Linked DNA regions of Homo sapiens: region 1 is linked to region 2. The links are contacts of gene promoters, found by promoter capture Hi-C in human tissues and cell types (Jung and others, 2019). All regions are on one chromosome and are shown on one strand. The core of a region is centred on a gene start or on the middle of the fragment in contact, and the rest is flanking DNA. Distances in the headings are between cores, read along the strand shown. Region 1 overlaps NUP160 (nucleoporin 160). Region 2 holds the start of RAPSN (receptor associated protein of the synapse).

Region 1 (5,693 bases), core at 1,112-3,611, 340 kb after region 2:
TTGTATAACTACAGATAGTAAAGGTTAAATACACTAACATATAGTTCAATTTACTCTCAGATTCTCACCTTACATAGCATGATAATAAAAAGAAATGCCTAGGCCGGGCATGGTGGCTCACATGGGTAATCCCAGCACTTTGGGAGGCCGAGGTGGGTGGATCACTTGAGGTTAGGAGTTCCGAGACCAGCCTGGCCAACATGGTGAAGCCCCATCTCTACCAAAAATATTAAAAAATTAGCTGGATGTGGTGGCAGGTGCCTGTAATCCCAGCTACTCAGGAGGCTGAGGCAGGAGAATCACTTGAACCCGGGAGGCGGAGGCTGCAGTGAGGGAGTAAGTGGAGGCTGCATCACTGCACTCCAGCTTGGGCAACAGAGCAAAACTCAGTTAAAAAAAAAAAAAAATATATATATATATATATATATATATATATATATATATATATATATATATATATGCGCCTATACCGATGTTCCTCAACTTATGGTGGGTTTGTTTTCCAATAAACCCACTATCAGTTGAAAATATCATAGGTTGAAAATACATATAATACATCTAACCTAATGAACATCACGGCTTAGCCTAGCCTACTTAACCATGCTCAGGACACTTAACGTTAACCTATAAAGTTGGGCAAAATCATCTAACAGAAAGCCTACTTTATAATACACTGTTGAATATCTTGTGTAATTTATTGAATACTGTACTGCAACTGAAAAACTGAACGGTTGTATGAGTATTTTATTTATTTATTATTTATTTATTTATTTATTTTTGAGATGGAGTCTCGCTCTGTTGCCCAGGCTGGAGTGCAGTGGCATGATCTCGGCTCACTGCAACCTCTGCCTCCCAGGTTCAAGCGATTCTCCTGCCTCAGCCTCCTGAGTAGCTGGGATTACAGGTACGTGCCACTGCATCTGGCTAATTTCTGTATTTTTAGTAGAGACGGGGCTTTGCCATGTTGGCCAAACTGGTTTCGAACTCCTGACCTCAGGTGATCTGTCTGCCTCGGCCTCCCAAAGTGCTGGGATTATAGGCATGAGTCACTGTGCCCGGCCATCAGTATTTTAAAGTATGGTTTCTCATAAATGTTCATCACTTTCAAACCACTGTAAAGTTGAAAAATCGTAAGTCAAACCATTGTAAATTGGGGACCATTTGTATATGCCTACCTCAATTCCGAAGTATTGATGTCCTTTTCCCAATACAGCATCCACATATTCTGACACCAAATCCACAGCTTCTTCTAAAAGGTCATAGTTTAAGTATAAACGAAGCAATTCAGCAGCATCAACCTTCTGTGAAAAGTCAGTGATTAAGAATATGTACCTATTTCCCTCCTACTTGAGTACTGACCAAAGAATGTTGAGTGGCTGATTCCCTAACATTTGTATTTCTCAATATAATTAAACCAGTGGCTTGGTTTACTCATCTGTATCTTAGGATAAGAGCTGATAACAAATCTGGGGAGTTAGGAAAAAAAAAAAGTTAAATCCCTAAGAGCCGTTACCTCTAGGCAGTTTGGGAGGCCCTTATCTGTTAAATAGCCTTCTTCCCCTGTTTTATGACCTAAGACATATTTTAACTTCTCTCCACTTCAGTTTCCACAGTTGTAAAGTCAACAAACTTTTCCTGAACACTAAAGTGACAATATATTCACATAATAAGAAATATATGAATGACAAATGCAAAAGAAGTTCAAAGAATCACCAGCTTTAAATCTGAAGTCTCTATTTGGAAGAGCTCTATTAATTAAGCATGCTTTCTATATTCCCATTTGATCACAATCTTACCTTTACCATCTTAGCTGGCTTCCCTACTTTCCTATTTATTTATTTTTTTTGAGACAGAGTCTTGCTCTGTCGCCCAGGCTTGGGGGCAGTGGTGCAACCTCAGATCACTGTAACCTCTGCCTCCAGAGTAGCTGAGATTACAGGCACGCACCATCACATCCAGATAATTTTTGTATTTTTAGTGGAGATGGGGTTTCACCATGTTGGCCAGGCTGGTCTCGAATTCCTGACCTCAGGTGATCTGCCTGCCTTGGCCTCCCAAAGCGCTGGGTTTACAGGCGTGAGTCACCGTGCCCGGCCTCCTTTCTACCTTAAAAAAAAAACAAAAACAAAAACAAAAAAAACAAAACAAAACAAAACAAAAAAAACCAAAAAAAACTTTCCTGATTTTAAGCTTTAGATTTTCTCTTTCCTTATCCTACTAACGGTGGTTCAGATGCAGAAGTTCTCAAACTTTAGCATGCATCAAAATCAAATTAGGAGCTTCTTAAAATGTAGATTTCTGGCTCCTAGCCTGAGATAATCTGATTCTGTAAGTCTAGGATGAGGAATCTGTATTTTGAAGAAGACTGCCATCTGAATAATTCTGATGCAGACAGTCTAAGAACCCGTTTTTGATTTTTAATAGGTGAAACAGTGGGAGTGGAGAAGGAACCAATCGGAAACTGGTTGTGCTCAATTAGTTGTAAACAACACGGCACTCAGACCAGCCATAGTGTTATATTATTTGAAAAGTACTCCACCGACTCCTGTGACTTTTTTGAGGTATGAAGAGTAAATCCTGTGTCATGCATATGCTCATTGTTCTAAATATAAACTCATTGTTCAGTGAATATAATAGGAGTCATTAACCTAATTACTAACCTATGAAACTTCAAATCTAAATACACAGTAGTACTGTGGAAATGAATTTGAATTGTTCTTATGGTTTTAGCTATGATGAAAAGCTTCCCAAAGTACGTAAGTCAATATGTTCCCATAAGTTATCACCCCATCTTTTTCTTTTTCTTTATATATTTTTAAATTTAAATAGAGATGGGGTCTCCCTGTGTTGCCCAAGCTGGTCTCAAACTCCTGGGCTCAAGCCATCCTCCCCTGTTGGCCTACCAATGTGCGGGCATGACAGGTATGAGCCACTGCAATCAGTCCATATTTTTAATCATCTCATGAAGTTATCCAGAATGATAAAGAGTGGGTTCTTACTCTGTACAAGTTATAATCCGTTTACCTTGTAACTGTTTATAAGCCAATTAGGCAGAGGCACTCCATGAGACAAGAGCTTGTTGATTACACAGTGGTGATACAAGTTATTCTGGACTTTGTACCTCTCCAGGTAAGTGGATAATAGTCGCCATGCTTCATCTGTAGCACTTGAAAAAAACAAAAATGACTAATGAGTTTCAGATTCTTAATAGCTATTTAGAGTACCATTCAAAGCATGTATTTACAAGGAAAACTTTTTTTTCAGACAGGGTCTTGCTCTGTCACCCAGGCTAGAGTGGAGTGGTGTGATCTCAGCTCACTGCAGCCTCAGCCCCAGATTCTCCCATTTCAGCTTCCTAAATAGCTGGGAATACAGGCATGCACCACTATGCCCAGCTAATTTTGTTTATGTTTTGTAGAGACAAGGACTTGCTATGTTGTCCACGCTGGTATTAAACTCCAGAGCTAAAGTGATCCTCTGACCTTGTCCTCCCTAAGTGTTGGGATTACAGGCAGGAGTCACCATGCCCAGCCTTACAAGGAAAACTTTAGAAATTAACAACTGAATCAATAATATAGCTAAATGGGAACAAATATTATTTGGGCTAATGTGACTTATGGGGATAGCACTAGAAACTAGATGTCTTGGGTTCGTATATTCCTCTCCCACTAACGTATTTAGTATTTAGTAAACAAACATATTTAGTAAATGAACGTTATTTGTTTGGCTATTAATGCATAATTCATTTAACTCCTTTGTTTCTGCATTTCTAAAACAAGAAACTGGTTCAGAACACTGGTTCTCAAACCTGATCAAGCATTAGAATCATGCAGAAGTTCTAACTTAGAAGACTAGGGTGATTTCTCATAATCTGTATTTTAATAAGTTATTCTGATGTGCTAATTTAGGGGTTGAAAACTAATGTCAGAGAACTTCCAAATTCTAAAGTGCTATCACTCTAAAGTGCTAAGCTGTATAATACCAAGTGCAAATGCAGTTCAGAAAGGGAAGTTTACTGAGGGTTAGGAATGTTAGAGAAGGTTTCTGAAGAAGCTGAAGTATATTTACGTGGACACAAAGTGGGTGCACTGGGGAAGTATACGAACCAGAGGAGATCTGAAGAAGGTATAGTGGATGATGGGGGCTGATGGGTGACAGACTGCTGAACAGCAGCTGGAGACAAGATATAAGAGGACACTGTGATGAAACCATGCAGTGACTGCTCAGTGGAAGAAATGGGGGAAAAAAGGAGGATAACACTCCGAAACAAGTAAATACAGATTTTTGCCTGTAAGAGTACCCTTTCCTGATATGAAACAGTAAGTCTTTGAGGAGGGGGATATGGAGAAGGAGACATTTCATAGGCAAAGACATCCTAGTTTGGACAATAAATGACATGATGTCACCTTAATTATAAACTTTCCAGCCCCTATAAAAACTTAGCCAAAAAGAAAGAAAAAAGTGAAATGATCTATGTAGGACAATTTAGTCAGAGAAAGACAGTTACAGCTTTTAGAAAGGCAAAACTACCCAGGGTTGAACACCAGGGTTGTACCTAGACTCCTTAGTAGTGATGACAGATGAGAGCTGATTGGCTGCTAGCCAGGCCCAGGCTTCTGCTTGTGCTGCCTCTCCTCCAAATTGCAATTTGATGCATCTGGAATGAAAATGGTTCCACACTTGAAAACTGAACGCTGAAACGTACCACTTTAATTTGATACTAAAACTAGAGAGATAGATGACAACTTCATCTCTAGTCTTTTGCTGAATTCACTACTGGAATATTGGCTCATCTCTTCCTCAAGTTACACAACTGGATACCTACAAGAACATGAGTAAGCATTAAGAGACAATTTACTTCCAAGATAAAATTAATGATGAAAAATTCTTTTTTCTTTTCTTTTTTTTTGAGATGGAGTCTTGCTCTGTCACCCAGGCTGCAGTGCAGTGGTGCAATCTCAGCTCACTGCAACCTCTGCCTCCCAGGTTCAAGTGATTCTCCTGTCTCAGCCTCCTGAGTAGCTGGGACTACAGGCCCATGCCACCATGCCTGGCTAATTTTTTGTATATTTAGTAGAGACGGGGTTTCACTGTGTTAGCCAGGATGGTCTTGATCTCCTGACCTCATGATCCGCCCGCCTAGGTCTCCCAAAGTCCTGGGATAACAGGTATGAGCCACCGCACCTGGCCTCTTTTTTTTTTTAAATTAAGATGGAGTCTCGCTCTGTTGCCCAGGCTGGAGTGCAGTGGCGCAATCTCAACTCATTGTAACCTCCGTCTCCCAGGCTCAAGCGATTCTCCTGCCTTAGCCACCCAAGTAGCTGGGATTACAGGCACACGCCACCTCTCCTGGCTAACTTTTGTATTTTTAGTAGAGATGGGGTTTCGTCATGTTGGCCGGGCAGGTCTTGAACTCCTGACCTCAAGTGATCTGCCCACCTTGGCCTCCCAACGTGATGGCATTACAGGCGTAAGCCACTGCACCTGGCTGAAAAATTCTGAAAGTTCAAAATTATTTCTAATTCACAAACTTTTTTTTTTTTTTTTTTTGAAACAGAGTCTTGCTTTGTTGCCCAGGCTCGAGTGCAGAGGCGCGATCTCAGCTCACTGCAACCTCTGCCTCCCAAGTTCAAGAGATTCTTGTGCCTAAGCCTCCTGAGAGGCTGAAATTACTGTTGTGTGCCACACCCTCA
Region 2 (6,133 bases), core at 1-2,500:
CATAGCGCAGGGCCTTCTCGAAGCTCTCCAGGGCCTTCTGGAAGACGCTGAGGCCCAGGAAGGCATTGCCCATGCTCAGGCTGACCTGGCCTCCGAGCTGGGCACCTGCCCTGGTACCAGGCAGCCCAAGGCAGGTCTTGCAGTAGGAGATGGTCTTGTGAAACTCGCACAGCTTCTCGTTGCTGCGTGCCAGGTTCAGGTAGCTCTCCAGGAGGAAGTCGGCATCCTCCAGCTCCCGGGCCGTGTCGATCTGGACCACAGCGAACTGCACACAGCGACGGTGGGCAGGTGGTGCTCAGCCTGGACTCTGAGCCTTGGACCCCAGCCTGCACTGCAGGCTCAGACCTGGAGGCCCCACACCCACCCCCCAGCCTCACACCCAAAGCAGCAGATCCCAAAGCTTCTTTTCAGACCCAGAGCTTCTACCCGCCAGCCTCAGCTACCTTCCCTACACCCCAGCCTCACCTCCCAAGCTCAGGCTTGCAGCCTTCACCTTCTATCCCAAGCCTCAGATCTGGAGTCTCCACCACCCACCCACCCCCAGCCGCAACCCTGGAGCCCACACCCCGCCAGGCTCAGACACAGAACACCAGACAGGAAGGCTGAAACCTACAATGGGCTTGAGACCCACAAACCCTCGACCCTGAGGCTGGAGAACCTCAGTCTCAGAGACTCGGGCACCACAGTTCAAGGCCACAGGCCTGAATCTGATGCCAAGACTCAGTATCTAAGACCCAGGGCCTTAGATATAAATTCAGAGCCTCGGGCCCTGGCTGCCAGCCTGTGGGACACAGGGGAGCCCGAGGAGGCCGAGAGGGGACTGGGGAGCCTGGGAGACATCCGGCCCCAGCCTGACCCTCGAACGCCCCCAGGCCGGGTACACCCACCTTCAGCATCTCCTTGTAGCGGCCCATCTCCGAGTGGGCTGTGACCAGGCAGCCCAGCACGCGGAAGCGCCCCATGAGGTCCGAGCTCTTCTCCAGCACCTTTGTCCACACCTGCAATGCCTTCTCTGTCTGGTTGGACTGGTACAGCTGGAGCCCCTTCTCGATCTGCTGCTTGGTCTGGTCCTGCCCCATCCTCCCCAAGCCCTGTGTCCCACGTGGGGTGATCCCTGGTGGCTCCGTGCCTCTAGGCACTCATGGGGCAGGAATCACAGTGCCAGCTGCCCCCCGAAACGTGGGAACAAAAGCAGCGTCGGGTGGGAGCCGGAATGGGGCCTGGATGGAGAGCAGGCGCCACCCTGGGAACAAAGCTGGTTCAGCCCGTCTGCAGCTGTCGCTGCCAGTTGGGGCCACATGGCCTCTGAGGAATGTCAGCAGCAAGGTCACGTGGGCCTCTGCTGCACCCACCCGCGAGCTGGGACGTGGCTTCCCTGAGCATACAGGCACCTTGCCACCTGGGCACCCCCTTGGGCGTCCCTTAGGCACCTCTGACACTGACCCTGACCGCCCTGGCAGCACGGGCCCTCCCAGCAGCCTTGCCAAGGGGCCAGCTCCAGCAAGTGGGCAGGCCTTGGGCTAGAGGTGCTCGGGGGAAGGAGAGCGAGGCTGGACCTGCAGGTCCGGGGAAGCCAGGTGAGCGCCCAGCCCTGCTTCTTCCCCATCAAGACACCCCTGACCGCAGCATCCCCTGGCTCTGTTCCTGAAATTCACTGAGCACCGTGGGTCACTCATCCAGGCCCAGGCTGACACCATTCACCAACTCTCACCTTAGAGAGTCTGGGAAAGACCTCCAGCTGGTGAGAGGCCTGAGCTCTAGCCTGGCTTCCTTCGAACTCTCAGTGGGACCCTAGCCAAGTGACCTGGCACCGTGGACTGAAGAGAGGAATGGTACCTGGCTCACTGGACTGCTATGAGAACTCAATGACGAAAGAGTTGAGAAGGACTTAGGACAGTGCCCGGCACAGGAAACCCCGCATGTGCTGCAAGAGGCTATTTTGCTCCATGGCAAATCCCCACCCGGGCCAGAACCCAGCCCTTGAAGTTTCAATGTCTCACTTCCAATCCCAACCCCGGGCTGAAAGGGTCCTCATAATGAGATTTAACACCAGATACTGTGGAGAAGGGCAAGGTCTTATGTAGTATTGGGGCCCCCGCTAGCAGGCCAGCTCATCCAGCCCCCCTTTCTCCTCTCTCTGCATGCCAGCCTTCTTCCTGCCCCAGGGCAAAAGTTTATCCTTTCTGGCTGGGCAATTCAGTGGTTTTTAGTATATTCACAGAGATGCACATTAATTGCCACTAATTCCAGAACATTTTAACCACCCCAAAAAGGAGACGCACACCCATCAGCAGTTACACCACTCCATTCCCCACCTTGATATGACTGAATCATGTCCCCCCGCAACCAAACGCATATGTTTAAGTCCTAACACTCAGTATCTCATAAGGTGACTGTCTTTGGAGACAGGGTCTTTAAAGGGTGATTAAGGTAAAATGAAGTCACATTGTACCTCATCCAGTTAAGACTGGTATCCCCCCCCCCTTTTTTTTGAGACAGGGTCTCACTCTGTCACCTAGGCTGGAGTGCAGTGGTGCAGTCACAGCTCACTGCAACCTCTACCTCCTAGGCTCAAGTGACCCTCCCACCTCAGTCTCCTGGGTAGCTGAGACCACAGCTGTCTAGTTTTTGTAGAGATGGGTTTCACCATGTTGCCCAGGCTGGTCTTGAACTCCTGGAGGTGGAGGTTTCAGTGAGCCGTGATTGTGCCACTGCACTCCAGCCTGAGCACCAGAGCAAGACCTTGTCTCAAAAAATAAATAAACAATAAATTTTTATTTTTAAAAATTATTTTTGAGACGGAGTTTTGCTCTTGTTGCATAGGCTGGAGTGCAGTGGCACAATCTCAGCTCACTGAGACTTCTACCTCCCGGGTTCAAGCAATTCTCCTGCCTCAGCCTCCCAAGTAGCTGGGATGACAGGTGTATGCCACCACGCCTGGCTAAGTTTTTGTATTTAGTAGAGACGGGGTTTCACCATGTTGGTCAGGCTGGTCTTGAACTTCTGACCTCAGTTGATCCACCTGCCTCAGAGCCTCCCGAAGTATTGGGGTTATAGGCGTGAGCCACCATGCCTGACCACAATACTTTTTTTTTTTTTTGAGACACTTTCCCTCTGTCACCCAGGCTGGAGTGTGGTGGTGCCATCTTGGCTCACTGCAACCTTCACCTCCCAGGTTCAAGTGATTCTCCTGCCTCAGCCTCCTGAGTAGCTGGGATTACAGCTGCGCACCACCACACCTGGCTAATTTTTGTATTTTTAGTAGAGACGGGGTTTCACCATGTTGGTCAGGCTGGTCTGGAACTCCTGACTTCATGATCTGCCCACCTCTGCCTCCCAAAGTGTTGGGATTACAGGCGTGAGCCCCCGCACCTGGCCCACAATAAATGTTTAAAAAGGACACAGTCACACAGAAGAAGAGCACGTGAAGACACAGGGAGAAGATGGCTATCTACAAGCCCAGGAGCAAGGCCTTAGAATGAAACCAACTCTGCCAATTCCTTGATCTTGGACTTCTAGCGTCCAGAACTGTGAGAAAATAAATTTCTGTTATTTAAGCCACCTGGTGTCTATGGACCTGTCTATTGTGGACCCTTCACAGGAATGGAATCATACAATATGTGGTCATCTGTGACTGGCTTCTTTAACTTGGCATAATGTTTTCAAGATTCAACTATGTTTTCAACCGTATCAGAACTTCATTACTTATTGTGGTTGGTTAATACTCATTGTCTGGATATACATTTTGTTGATTCAGCAGTTAATAGGCATTTGGGTTGTTTCATTTTTGGCTACTATGAATAATGATGCTATAAAAATTCATGTACAAATTGGGCTGGGCACGGTGGCTCACGCCTGTAATCCCAGCACACTAGGAGGCTGAAGCAGGCAGATCACTTGAGCCCAGGAGTTGGAGACCAGCTTGGGAAACATAGCGAGACCCCATATCTACAAAAAATACAAAAAAAAAAAAAAATTAGCTGGGTGTGGTGGTGCACAGCTGTGGTCCCAGCTACTCGCGAGGCTGAGGCAGGAGAATCGCTTGAGCCTACAAGCTTGGACTGCAGTGAGCCGCAATCATGTCACTACACTCCAGCCTGGGTGACAGAGCGAGACCCTGTTTCAAAAAAATAAAAAATTCATGTACTAGGTTTTATGGGGACATGTTTTCATTTCTCTTAGGTATATGCTTGGAGCAGAAGTGTGAGTAATATGGCAACTGTTACATTCTGGTACCTGCCTACCTGTCTGCCCCAGGGCCTTTGCACCTCCTAATTCCTTCTCTGTTCACCACACCCACACTCTGCCTCGTAAGTCATAATTAGGATGAATCAGCATATTATCCTCTCATTGAATTACACTGCATTCTGATACAGGACTTATCTCTATAATTTTATTTTGAGACAGGGTCTCACTTTGTCGCCCAGGCTGGAGTGCAGTGGTACAATCTAGGCTCACTGAGGCCTCGACCTCCTGGGCTCAAGCCACCCTCCCACCTCAACCCTCGCAAGTAGCTGGCATTACAGGCAATGCCACCATGCCCAGCTAATTTTTATATTTTTAGTAGAGACGGGGTTTCACCATGTTGGCCAGGCTGGTTTTGAACTCCTGTGCTCAAGTGATCCGCTGGCCTGGGCATCCCAAAGTGCTGGGATTACAGGCGTGAGCCACCACGCCCAGCCTCTCTATAATTTTATATTAGTGAGGTTGTTTGCTGAATGTCTTTATTCTTCACTCAAATGAGGTCATATGGCTGGGCCCTAACCCAGGGCAGGACTTTGTCTCCTTCATTACTGACTGTATTCCCAGAGCAAGGCCCGGCACACTGTGGCCCCTCAATAAATGTCAAATATCGGTGAATGGGGAAGAAGCGGAGGAAAGACGGCTTCACCGGGAAATTCAGAGCAACTACACGGCCTGCTTCCTGAGAGCCCAACGGGTCAGAGGGGACGCTCTGGGGGTCAGAAGGCAAATGCCCCAGGCTCAACAGAGGCAGAGTGGGAGCAGGCTCTGGGACAGGTGGCTGGGCAAGGCCACCTGGACTCCCCAAAGGAGTGCTCCTAAGCCTGGGAAAGGGAGGGAGAGCTGGCTGGGGTCTTCTCTCATCTCAGGGAGGCCTGGGTTGATGCTGAGCTGCAGATGGGAGGGAAGCTGGGCCCACAGCGAAGGTGTGAAGGGCCAGCAGATTCTCCCCACTCCAAGGCCCAGACACTATTCACATTGAGTCTCTGGCAGGAAGGAATGGAGGAAGGGCGGCCTGCATCTACACCCCAACAGAGTTGGGGACCACAGCCTTCCTCTTTCCTGGGGAACTCAAATGACCTCAAAACTTGAAAACTTGATGGGATCAAGCTGTCCTTTCCCTGAGACAGGTCTTTGCTCATCTGACTTCAGTGATGGGAATATGCCCATACTCGCTTATTCTAGGTAGCAGAGTACCTTATGTTTCCTTGAAACATTTCATTTCTTCTTTATTATTATTTTTTTTTTTGAGATGGAGTTTTTCACTCTTGTCGCCCAGGCTGGAGTGCCCGTGGTGGTGAGAGGTGAAGCCAGCTGGACTTCCTGGGTGGAGTGGTGACTAGGAGAACTTTTCTGTAGCTAACTAGAGGTTTGTAAAATGCACCAATCAGTGCTCTGTAAAAACACACCAATCGGTGCTCCGTAGCTAGCTGGAGATTTGTAAAATGGACCAATCAGCACCCTGTAAAATGGACCAATCAGTGCTCTGTAAAATGGGCCAATCAGCAGGACATGGGTGGAGACAAATAAAGGAATAAAAGCTGCCTCCCCGACCAGCCCATCCCCACCCCAACAAGCCAGCAGCAGAAACCCGCTTAGGTTCCGTTCCACGCTGTGGGAGCTTTGTTCTTTTGCTCTCCACAATAAATCTTGCTGTTGCTCACTCTTTGGGTCTGCACCACCTTTAATAGCTGTAACACTCACCACAGAGGTTTACGGCTTCATTCTTGAAGTCAGCGGGACCACGAACCCACTAGAAGGAACCAACTGCGGACACAGTGGGATCTCGGCTCACTGCAACCTCTGCCTCCTGGGTTCAAGCAATTCTCCTGCCTCAGCCTCCCAAGAAGCTGGAATTACAGGCGAGCACCACTACACCTGGCTAAGTTTT

Evidence for each region. The method cuts DNA at HindIII sites, captures the fragments that hold promoters and counts their contacts. A contact is called where the count stands out against the background at its distance.
Region 1: a contact is called between a fragment that was not itself captured here and the fragment with the promoter of RAPSN in region 2, in 1 of the 25 tissues and cell types used here (small bowel).

The regions. Positions count from the first base shown.
Region 1 is chr11:47,781,898-47,787,590 of GRCh38, forward strand. NUP160 (nucleoporin 160) reads right to left here. Exons shown (of 36, transcript NM_015231.3): 32 at 4,556-4,657; 33 at 3,025-3,166; 34 at 1,176-1,301. Among named protein-coding and RNA genes, the nearest start is that of FNBP4, 17 kb to the left of the region's middle. The HindIII fragment of the contact is 4,341 bases long and covers 192-4,532 here.
Region 2 is chr11:47,447,886-47,454,018 of GRCh38, forward strand. It overlaps RAPSN (receptor associated protein of the synapse), which reads right to left and starts at 1,251. Exons shown (of 8, transcript NM_005055.5): 1 at 888-1,251; 2 at 1-265. The coding sequence starts at 1,079. The HindIII fragment of the contact is 7,804 bases long and covers 1-5,732 here.